Regions from separate parts of the Homo sapiens genome. Here regions 2 and 3 are each linked to region 1. The links are contacts of gene promoters, found by promoter capture Hi-C in human tissues and cell types (Jung and others, 2019). All regions are on one chromosome and are shown on one strand. The core of a region is centred on a gene start or on the middle of the fragment in contact, and the rest is flanking DNA. Distances in the headings are between cores, read along the strand shown.

Region 1 (3,441 bases), core at 619-3,118:
CATCTTGTAGCGGTGGTTCTGGAACCAGATCTTGACCTGCGTGGGCGTGAGGCGGATGAGGCTGGCCAGGTGTTCGCGCTCGGGCGCCGACAGGTACCGCTGCTGCCGAAAGCGCCGCTCCAGCTCGTAGGTCTGCGCCTTGGAGAAAAGCACTCGCCGCTTTCGCTTCTTGCCGGCGTCCCCCCCGCCGCCCGGGGTCTCCTTGTCATTGTCCGGTGACTCGTCGGCCGAGGGCTCCGGGGACTTGGAGCTTGAGTCCTGAGGGGGCGCCCCGGCAGCCAGACCGTGCACTGGGGGGAGGGGGAGAGAGAAGCGCGTCAGGCGTCTGGAGGCCGCGCGCAGCCTGCACCAGACTCGGAGCACCCTGGATCCTCCGTGCGACCCTGGACCTCCGCGCCTGGCAGCCCAGCCCCGCTGCCTTTGCCATGACCCCTGCCTTCCTCTACGCCTGACGAAGACGTCGGGACCTCCCAGGGTAAAGAGGGAAATCCGTAGGAGTGGGGGCTAGGGGCTCGCCTTTCAAGGGGCTCACATAGTGTGGGTGAGAATTTGGGGGGGGAAGTGGCACTGAAGATCATCGCGGGTTAAGGGCTCCGGCGCCCTTAAGCGGTTTCCTCTCCGGCGAGACGTGGGCAGATTTTTAAAAGAAATACCCCACAATCCCAGCATTGATCGGCTCGGCCATTTAAGGCAGGTTTTTGGGGGCTTTCGTTTCTGCTTTCGGGCCTTCTAGACACCCCCTGCACTGCACAAAGCGTCCTCTATGATCGCGCAGGGGGCAGGGTGAGCTATTTATACCCGGGCCACCCGAAGCCTCCCCACCCTCCACCCGTACCCGGACGAGGCTCGCTGGCTACCTCCAGGGCGCCAGGCCAGTCCCTCCCAGCGGCCGGAGTCCGGGGGCTGCGGCTGGAGCCATCGGTCCGGGTTGACATCATATACCAGCCCCTGGGAGGTATAGCCCTTCTCCCTCTTTCTCCTTAACTTCTCGCATTGAAAAAAATTTTGGAGACCAAGTTCTTTCCCGGAACTAAGGAGGCTTGAAGAGGAGGGCAGAGGACATCCTATACAGGTGTTAAAAATCTTTCTACGGATCCGAGTGAGGGGGTCCGGGCTTACATGGCCCCTTCCCCTTTCACTCCCAGCGTCCAACCCGGGCTGCGGCTGCAGGAATGGAGGGGACCACGGCCTCGGCAGCCAAGTTTTGCTACTTACGGGAGTACTGAAGGCCCTCGGTGCTGGCCAGCCAGCGCGTGTACGGGTTGTCGCTGCTGTCGTAGAAGGGGTTCTTCAGGGGCAGGCTCTGCACCGCGTCCAGGGCGCCCTGCCCCAGCGGCCCGGCCCTCTTGGCTGGCTCGGGCCCCTCGTTCTCTTCCTCCGGACCTTCGGCCACAGAGCCCTCCTCATCGTTGGTGTCCGGCAGGTCTAAGATGTCCTTGACCGAAAACCCCGTCTTTGTGTTGGTCAGCGACATGGTTCGAGACCCCAAAATTTATGTCGCAAAGTTGTAGCTTCACTTGGTCAATTCGTGGCGCTCCCCTGCCCCGGCGGGCGGGGGAGGGGGGAGTTGGGGGGAGGGACTGGGGGAGGGGAGGGGGGAATTGGCTTTAATTATTGGGATAATTATTATTTTTAAAAAGAGAAAGAAACTGGGGATGGGGAGGAAAAAAATGAAGCCCAACCCAGTGCCTCTCTCTGTCTTCTTTGAAAGCACGCGGAAATGGACGCAGGAAGCCGGGCGGCCTGCGCGCCGAGCGCCGCGGGCCCCGGCCTTAGTTTCTAACTCCAGGAGGGGTGCCAAGGCGGCGTCAGCTCGGGCTCCGGCGGCCGCTCGGCGCGCGGTGGCGGCTGGTGGCGAGGAAAAAATGGGCCATTGCCCGAGCGATCAGTCCATATAAGGCTGGGCTCCACTCACGAACCTGGGGAGGCGGGGAGAGGGGGAGAAAGAGAGGGAGGGAGGGAAAGAAAGAGGGAGGGAGGGGGAGCGAGAGAGGGAGCGGGAGAAGGGTGGAAAAAAGGGGGAAGAGACATTAAAAACGCAAAGGTTGGCCACGTGTGGGCGGGTCTTGGGAGTCAAGTGGATGAAGACAGTATTTGCAGATGTGAAATTGTGGGTTTTGGGGAGCTCCGCGCTCCCAGCCAACGGCCCTCTAGAGCAAGATGAGAGGTGTAACGTGTCAATTAATTGCAAAGACGGGGCGAGCCTTTTTTTTTTTAAACCCAGTATTTACATACAAAGGGCCACCGCGTCGCTCGCGAGTCCACACACTTGAAAGGGCCGTTTTAACAAATTGCATCTTAAAAAAGGTGGGGGTGGGGAGGAGGAGGGGAGAAAACAAAACAGAAACCAGGAGGAGGGAAAAAATCCTCTTTAACATTCACCGGTTCCTACCTCCCCGCCCCCGCGCGCCCACCCCCGGCAAGCCGGAAAATTGGCGATTTGTGGCGCCTTTGGAAAAGGGGGAGGGGGCGAAGGCCGAGCTGCGGAAATCTCTCCTTTCCATCGTTGGTGGTTGCCTAAACAAGATCCGGTTCAAATGGCAAGAGCCCAACTTCTGTAAGCCTCCTAGGTCAATATTTTGGTTGAGGCTTAAGGATGAGTGCTAGAAATGACAAGGCAAGTAATTGATTCCAGTTAACCGCGAGAGAGCCCAAAACCCAGGAGAGAGCTCCGCTCCGGGCCGGCCAGAGCCACCACCAAGCGACCCGCCCCCTTCCAGCCGCCCTTTATTTGCTAAAGACTCATTTATTTCCTTCACTCCGCCTCCCCCCACCTCCCACCCCCAACCCCCCGCCTCCACCTCTCTGCGGCCAAGGAGGACGCGCAGTTCACTTTCTGCTTTGCGGGCGGTCCCGGGGAGGGCGGGGTAAGAGTGAGGAGCTCCAACTTCGTCTGGGGTCGGACCCTGGCCCTGCTGCCTCTGGGCTCTGCGGGCCTCTTTCCCCGGGTGGAGGAAAGGGCAGACGGCCCTGCTCTTTCCTGCCCTCTATTATCCCTCCCTCTCCGGCCCCCTCCCTCTCCAGCCTCTGGCTAGAGGTGGAGCAGCGGGAAGGCGGCGGGGCGGGATTGCGGGGGTGGGGGTGGGGGTTGTGTCTCCAGCCTGGGTGAAGACCCAGAAAGCTGCGGGGGAGGGGGGTCGCTGGGTGGCCCGACGATGCCTCGTTTTCTCCCCAGTTTTCTTCTCCCACGCGAGTTCTTTAGTGTGGTCTCTTTTTGGACGCCTTGGGTGCGTTCGGAGTACGCGCTCCACGTTTCCAGGTTAAGTCAGGTTAGTGTGAAGTTTCCAGCCACTCTCGGCTCTGGGAACTGAACTTTCCCGGGACTTGCACTTCCTCCTCGGCGCTGGGGTTGGAAAAGACCACGCCGCATTTGCCACCCCTTCTTCTAGTTAAAACTTTTTTGGGGGGGGGGTGCAGGGGTGTAGATTGGCTACCTGATGC
Region 2 (3,677 bases), core at 803-3,302, 1.1 Mb after region 1:
AGGGTCCAGAAGGAGCCCTTGCCGGGCTTGTCGGGCGAGCGGGGCACCTTCAGGAAACAGTCGTTGAAGGAGAGCGAGTGGCGGATGGAGTTCTGCCAGCGCTGCTGGTTCTGCCGGTAGAAGGGGAAGAGGTCCATGATCCACTGGTAGATCTCGCTCAGCGTCAGCATCTTGTTGGGGCTCTGCTGGATGGCCATGGTGATGAGCGAGATGTACGAGTAGGGCGGCTTTGCGTGCGTGTAGCTGCGCCTGTAGGTCTTGGGGTCGCGGGCGCGGCTCAGGCCCGCCTGCCCGTACATGGGGCTCATGGAGTTCATGTTGGCGTAGGGGGCCAGGCCGCCCATGGCCCCGGCCGCCTGCCCCCCGAGCGGGCTCAGGCTGGGACTCAAGTGCGGCCCCATGCCCGCCACGCCGGCCGCCCCGGCCGAGCCGCCCATGCCCGCCATGGCGCCCGCGCCGGGGGACATCCCCGCCAGGGACGGGCTCATGCCAGCGCCCACGTACGACGACATGTTCATGGAGCCCGCGCTCATGTTGCCCGAGCCGCTGCCCATGGCGGCCGCCGACATGCTCATGTACGTGTTCATGCCGTTCATCCCCAGGCCGGCGTTCATGTTGCTCACGGAGGAGTAGCCCTGCGGACAGAGCCCCGGGAGGGAGGCGACAGCGTTAGCACCGCGGCTGGAGGGTGCCCAGACCTCCCACCCACCGCCCAGGCCTCCGCGTCCGGGGAGGCCTCCGGGGAGCCCTTTCGTCCCCGATGGCCCAGTCTCCGGACTCCGAGTCTGTTTCATTCAGGGAGAGTCATGATCGATCGCCCTTGGGAAGGTGGCGAGCGGATTGCTGCTTGGGCATGTGGCCCGTTCCTAGCCCTTCTCCACCTCGCCCAGATTCTAGAACAGGGGTCCCATGGAGTACTCCCAAGCCAGCACCCCAAATACATTCCCCTACCCCAGAGTCTCCCCAAACTCTCCCACCAGCATACTGAGCTGGCGCCGAGGCCCGAAGTCCCCGGACGCCACCTCCGGTCGCAGCAAGCAACCTGCGGGACAACGCGCGGGGCGCCTCGGGCTGCCTCCAGCGAAGACTGTCCCGGGCCCCCTCTGTCCGGTCTCCCTCCAGGGACCCCCTCCCTTGTCCCAGGGAAACTGCAAGGCAGTGCCTGTGCGGAGTGCGGGGGCGGCTGGAGGCACTGAACGGGGCAATAGGGAAAGAACCGAGACCTGAACCACACGCGGCTGAGCTTTGCAGGCAAAAACTTTCTTTCTCTTTGTCCACTAGTCTTTGACTCTGCCTCCACTTCAGCCCCCAACTCCTACCCATCTTCTCCTCCTCAGCTCCCCACCCCCTCGCCGGCCGACCTCCCACCCCTCCCCAGCCGCGCGCTGCCAAACATAACTCTGTTAGGATAGTGCGTGGCTCGGCCACGAAGAGGATTTGGAGGCGCCGCAAGTCAATATTTGATCACAAAGTTAATATTATCTCAAGGCTAACAGTGTGTCGTATAAAAAAGAGACCCATTTGATTCCAAGGAGGGCGGAAAAGGCGGCTGCCCAGAAAGGCTGGGGTTGTGGGGCGGGGTGGGGGGGTGCCAGCGAGGGAAGCGGTCCTGAGGTTGGGGAAGGAGCGAGCGCCGCCGCTCCACTTCCCCCTGGAAAAGACGAGCGCTTACCTCGGGCTCTGCATAGTAGCTGCTCCAGTCGGACGGCTCGTGCCCTTCCATCTTCACCGCTCCCAGCATACTGGAAGCCGAGTGCATGGCAGTTTAAAATTTAACAGCCACAACAAACGACCAGCAATCACCCCCCACCCCCACCCTCTTTTAAAAAAAAGTCAGCCAAAGCACCGTCCCCTCCTCCCTCCCTCTCTCGCGCTCCCTCTCCCTGGGCTCCACTCCCTCTCTCTCCCTGGGCAGGCCGGAGGCGGTAGTTGGAAGTGGGCGGGAGGTGGGGGGGGGCGAGGAGCGGAGGAGGCCCAGGCCAGCGCCCCGCGGTAGGGAGCACCCGCCGCCGCCGCGCTCACGGGCTGCCGGGTGGCGGCTGAGGTTGGCAGTGCCGAGCTGCCCCGAGGCGGCGGGAAGCGCGCGGCGCGGGGGCTAGTGGGGGGGTGGGGAGGAGGAGGAGGAAGGAGGAGGAGGAGGCGGTGGTGGTGGTGGAGGAGGAGGAGGAGGAGGAGGAGGAGGAGGAGGAGGAGGAGGTGTGGACCGCGGAGCGGACAAGTGCCGCAGTGACGTGGGAGGCTGGTGATATAGCGCGGCGCGCTGGCGCGGGCCTCCAATCCCCAGACCCGGGGCAGCCCATTTGAATAATCAGCTCACACCTAGGTGAGAGGTAGCCGCAGCCGGCGCTCCGCACCTGCCCCTCAGCGCCTGCCGTCCGCCCCACCGCCGCGGCGCCCCGCACTCCTGGGCGGGCCAGGGGAGCGGGCTGGGCGGGCGATCGGGCACGCGGGATCCCTGGTCGAGCCCCCTTTCCTCCCGGGTCCACAGCGAGTCCCCTGAGGAAGGAGGGACCTGGGAGGAAACCACCCTCTGGGGCGGCTCCGGCCTCCAGCCCCCGCCCCGTCTCATCGCGCCGGGCGCCCGGTGCGCCTGTCGGAGGGCGCGTCCAGCCTCAGTGCCCGGCAGATCCCTATGAAAGCCGGATTTATTTATGCCGGGTTTCTTCGCTCTCAGTGCTCATTCTCTGTCAAAACAGCAAGTCCATGACAGCCAATTTGCAAAGCGCTGTCCTATTTAGAAAAACTACGTACACACCTTTAACTCGCCCGCTGCTGCTCCTGCGAGGCCCCTCCCTGTTACAGTTCAGACCCGGAACGGCCTCGGGAGAAGCGCGGGGCGCACGGTCTGGCCGCCTCGGCTCTCCGACTCCTCAGACACCGGCCGCCAGGGACCCGCAGTGGGGCGGCCGGCGCCTGGCGCAAGCAGCCCCTCTAGCAGCGGCCGACGGTTGGGAGGCTGAGATTTGTCTCTGATATTCAGGCCGGCGTGTTTCAAGGTTACTTTTCAGTCACAACCGAGGTGCCCACAGCATTTCGTAACTAAAACAAACAGGGCAGGAGGTGGGGAGGGAGGGGTGAGGAGAGAAGAATCCAGGAATCAATGATGGGGCATATGGAGTTGACTTCAAGAGCGTCTCTGTCCTCTCTGTCTTCCAGAGGGACTGCTTAATAGAAATTAGAAACTCCAGCAATCGTATACTTTTATTTCCCCAGCAGCTCTTGGGTTCAAAAATTGTCTTCTGTTCTGGGTTAGCCTGTGAGCCCAGATTTGGAGTGGGGGGATATTGCAGGTGTTTGGATGTGGAGGCTCTTTCTTGGTTCTGAAAACCTGGCTGGACCTTGGGGATCCAGCCCTGTACCCACCCCCTCAGACACAGAGAATGCATAGGAACTAGTGGGCATCCAGCCCACCTGTCCAAAATTGGGGGCGATGGTGGCAGAAGACAGGCGAGATGGCAGACACGGAGCTTCGCATTGAAGCTTGAGTAAGGGTGAGGCTGGAAGGCAAGCGAGGAGGTAGCAGTAGGCACAGGGGAACCACTTCCCTAACCCCAGGACTCTCAGGTCTGCACGGTTTGGGACACAGAAGGAAGCCGCCGGCAGCATCTTTTGCTGCTGAAATGCAGATGGTTTGGACACTTCATAAAGAGGGCATTAATAAGCCCGCCGAGTGAGCG
Region 3 (3,208 bases), core at 387-2,886, 1.1 Mb before region 1:
TTATTTTTGCTCCAGGGTCTCACTCTGTCACCCAGACTGGAGTGCAGTGGTATGAACATGGTTCACTGTAGCCTTGACCTCTGGGCCTCAAGCAATCCTCCCACCTCAGCCTCCCCTACAGCTGGGACCACAGGTACGTACCACCATGCCCAGCTAATGTTTTATTTTTTGTAGCGATGGGTGGGGGGGGTCTCACTTTGTTGCCCAGGCTGGTCTCGAACCGCCGGGCTCAGGTGATTCTCCCACCTTGGCCTCCTACAGTGTTAGGATTACATGCGTGAGCCACTATGCCCGGCCTGCATGTGAATTTTTCCATTTGGCCTTCACAACAATCCTTTATAGATTATGATTCATTGATTTGTATATTAAGAAAAGTCTGAATGTTGAATGCCTTGCCCTCAATCAGAAGGCTCTTCATCTAAGACATAGAGAGCAGAACCCAGGTGTCTGGCTCCTTGATGTAGCCCTCCACAAAATGAGGTGGTCTCGGTTCACTAGTAGAATGCACTGTTGTATGTAAATGCCTTCTGTACATTGTCTTGAAAACAACCATTAGGTCAATGTCCCAAGCACTATGACTGTGTAACAACAGATCTCCCCAAAACTGAGCATTTACAACAACAACAGAGATTTATTATATCTAATTATTTGTGTGGGTCAGGAATTCAGTAGCAGCCTGGCTTGGTGGTTCTGGCTTGGGGTCCTTCATGAAGTTACACTGAGTTTTCCACTGGGGCTGCAGTCAAGTGAAGGGTTGATTGGGGCTGGAGGATCTATTTCCAAGATGGCTCCCTCACATGGATGCTGGTCTCTATAGCACTGCTTGAGTGTCCTGACAGCATGGTGGCTCTCTCCAAAGCAAGCCATCCAGGAGACCAAAGTGGAAACTGTAATACCTTTATGACTAATCTTGGAAGATATATCACTTTTGCTGAGTTCCATTGGTCCCACAGGTCATCTCTGAATCAGCATGTAAAGGACCACGCATAGGTATGAATTCCAGGAGGTGATGATTGCTGGGGCAATCCTTGAGGTTGGCTACCACAATCAGTACTATCGCCCCAAGTCCCAGGTGAGGAAATGAGCCAGAATGACTAGGGAATGGCCGCTCAAGAGTGTGTGCAGGTGGAATCGGAAGCCAACACTGATTCCTAGGACCACGTTCCTCTCCAATCTATGACACAAGGTGAATTTGTGGTGTATTTTGATGCATTTATGTTAGTATTTTCAAAAATTTCTTCAAAATTGAGAAATTCTTTGGAACATTATCATGAAAAGACATACGGTGTGGGCACACTGATTGGGAGTCCTCACTTTGGTCAACAAATGCCTCGTTTTGTCATGGCTGAAATTATGCCTTTTTCCTGGGTGCCCCTTAAAATTTTTCTTTTCTTTTCTTAAGCTGTTGGGTAATTTACTGAGTTATCCTATACAAACATGGGAAAACATGGGTCCTAGCTTCATTTTTAAATATAACTCCAAAACCGACTTTATAGAATTCAAAAGTGGTCAAATAATCAATCTATTAGGACTATAATGACTGTCTCAGTTAGCTTGTGCTGCCGTTAACAAAATACCATAGACTGAGTGGCTTAAACTTAAAATAATAGGAATGGCGTGAACAACAGGAATTTATCTTTCACAGTTCTGGAGGCTGGAAAGTCTAAGATCAAGGAGTGGGCTGATTTGGTTCTCCAGTGAAGACCTCCTTCCTGGCTTGCAGACAGCAGCCTCCTCCCTGTGTCCTCACATGGCAGAGAGAGAGAAGCTCTGGTCTCTCTTCTTCTAAGAGCACTAATCCCACCATGGAGACCCCATCCCCAGGACCTCATCGCAACCCAGTCACTTCCCAAAGATCCCACCTCCTAGTAAACACTGGGGGTTAGGGCTTCAACATATGGGTTTCGGGAAGACACAAACATTCAGTCCATAACAATGACATATACTCTCTGACTCAGTAATTTCATTTTTTTTTGGAAATTTATCATACAGAAATAAAAGCAGCAGTGTGTCAGGATATAGGCGTGCTGGTGTTTATTACAGGTGTCTTTGTTATGACAAACACTGGAAGCCACCTTAATGCACAGATGGGCTGAGTAAATTAAGGTACATCTGTATTAAGGAATAAAATGCAACTACGGAAAATGATAAACTAGATGGAGGGGTGCCTATGACACTGTAAAGTTTAACAAGGATGTTGTAGAATAATGTGTATTGTATGATGCTATTTCTATGTCTTTGCATTAATCTGGAAAGAATGTTCCTTTTTTTTTTTTTGGAGACAGAGTTTCACTCTGTCACCCGGGCTGGAATGCAGTGGTGCAGTCTCAGCTCACCGCAACCTCCGCCTCCCGGGTTTGAGCGATTCTCCTGCCTCAGCGTCCCGAGTAGTTGGGACTACAGGCATGAGCCACCACGCCCTGCTAATTTTTGTATTTTTAGTAGAGACAGTTTCACCATGTTGGCCAGGCTGGTCTCGAACTCCTGACCTCAAGTGATCCATCCGCTTTAGCCTCCCAAAATGCAGGATTCAGGCATGAGCCACTGCTCCCAGCTGAGAATGTTCTTTTGAATAACCTGCTTATCAGTCTTAGGGAGATGGGGGTTGGAATAGAGGCAGATCATTATTTTTAAGAGAAAAAAGTATAGAACACCCGATGTAATATACAAATTTGTACTTTGGCTATTTCATTAAAATCTTGATCATTAGTAAAAAAAAGAAAAAAAAAACCTTCCTTGATTAAAAGAAGCTCCTGATGTGAGTTTTCCCACCAGCATTTTACTCTCGCCTTTAGGTTGAAACTGTTCCAGGGGGTCACTTTTCCTGGTGCCTGAAACGAAGATCCAAGATTTCCCCAAAGAAAGCTATAGAAATAACTGTTTCCACTGGGCCCATAATCAGCCATCAACATGGAGGACAAAATGGGGTGACATTTTTTTAAAAGGAGAAGATGATACCATTAATGTACCGCCCTTGCTGGTTCCCACTGCTCCGAGACATTTGCCGCAGGCGCTCTGCAGGTCGGGCGGGAGGGAGACTGCTATTGAGGCCCTCTGCACTTAGCCCAGCGGCCATTTCTTAGGGAATATTGATCAAAAGTACTCTCCTCTATCATCTGAGGGGCATAATGCAGTCCCTGAGTATTCACGGAAAAAAGCTTTTCTTTGCCAGGCTATTTTCTAAAGTCAAAAAGATCCTTTCAGGATC

Evidence for each region. Contacts are between HindIII fragments. The study calls those that stand out against the background at their distance.
Region 2: the fragment with the promoter of FOXA2 here is called in contact with the fragment with the promoter of NKX2-2 in region 1 in 1 of the 25 tissues and cell types used here (H1 embryonic stem cells).
Region 3: a contact is called between a fragment that was not itself captured here and the fragment with the promoter of NKX2-2 in region 1, in 1 of the 25 tissues and cell types used here (spleen).

What each region holds. Positions count from the first base shown.
Region 1 is chr20:21,512,196-21,515,636 of GRCh38, forward strand. NKX2-2 (NK2 homeobox 2) reads right to left here and starts at 1,869. Exons shown (of 2, transcript NM_002509.4): 1 at 1,216-1,869; 2 at 1-290. The coding sequence starts at 1,474. The HindIII fragment of the contact is 15,862 bases long and covers 1-3,441 here.
Region 2 is chr20:22,582,520-22,586,196 of GRCh38, forward strand. It overlaps FOXA2 (forkhead box A2), which reads right to left and starts at 2,053. Exons shown (of 2, transcript NM_021784.5): 1 at 1,673-2,053; 2 at 1-635. The coding sequence starts at 1,759. RefSeq lists enhancers at 1-85, 86-658, 2,083-2,838, 3,594-3,677. The HindIII fragment of the contact is 10,630 bases long and covers 1-3,677 here.
Region 3 is chr20:20,382,442-20,385,649 of GRCh38, forward strand. No RefSeq gene overlaps it. Among named protein-coding and RNA genes, the nearest start is that of INSM1, 16 kb to the left of the region's middle. The HindIII fragment of the contact is 6,215 bases long and covers 1-3,208 here.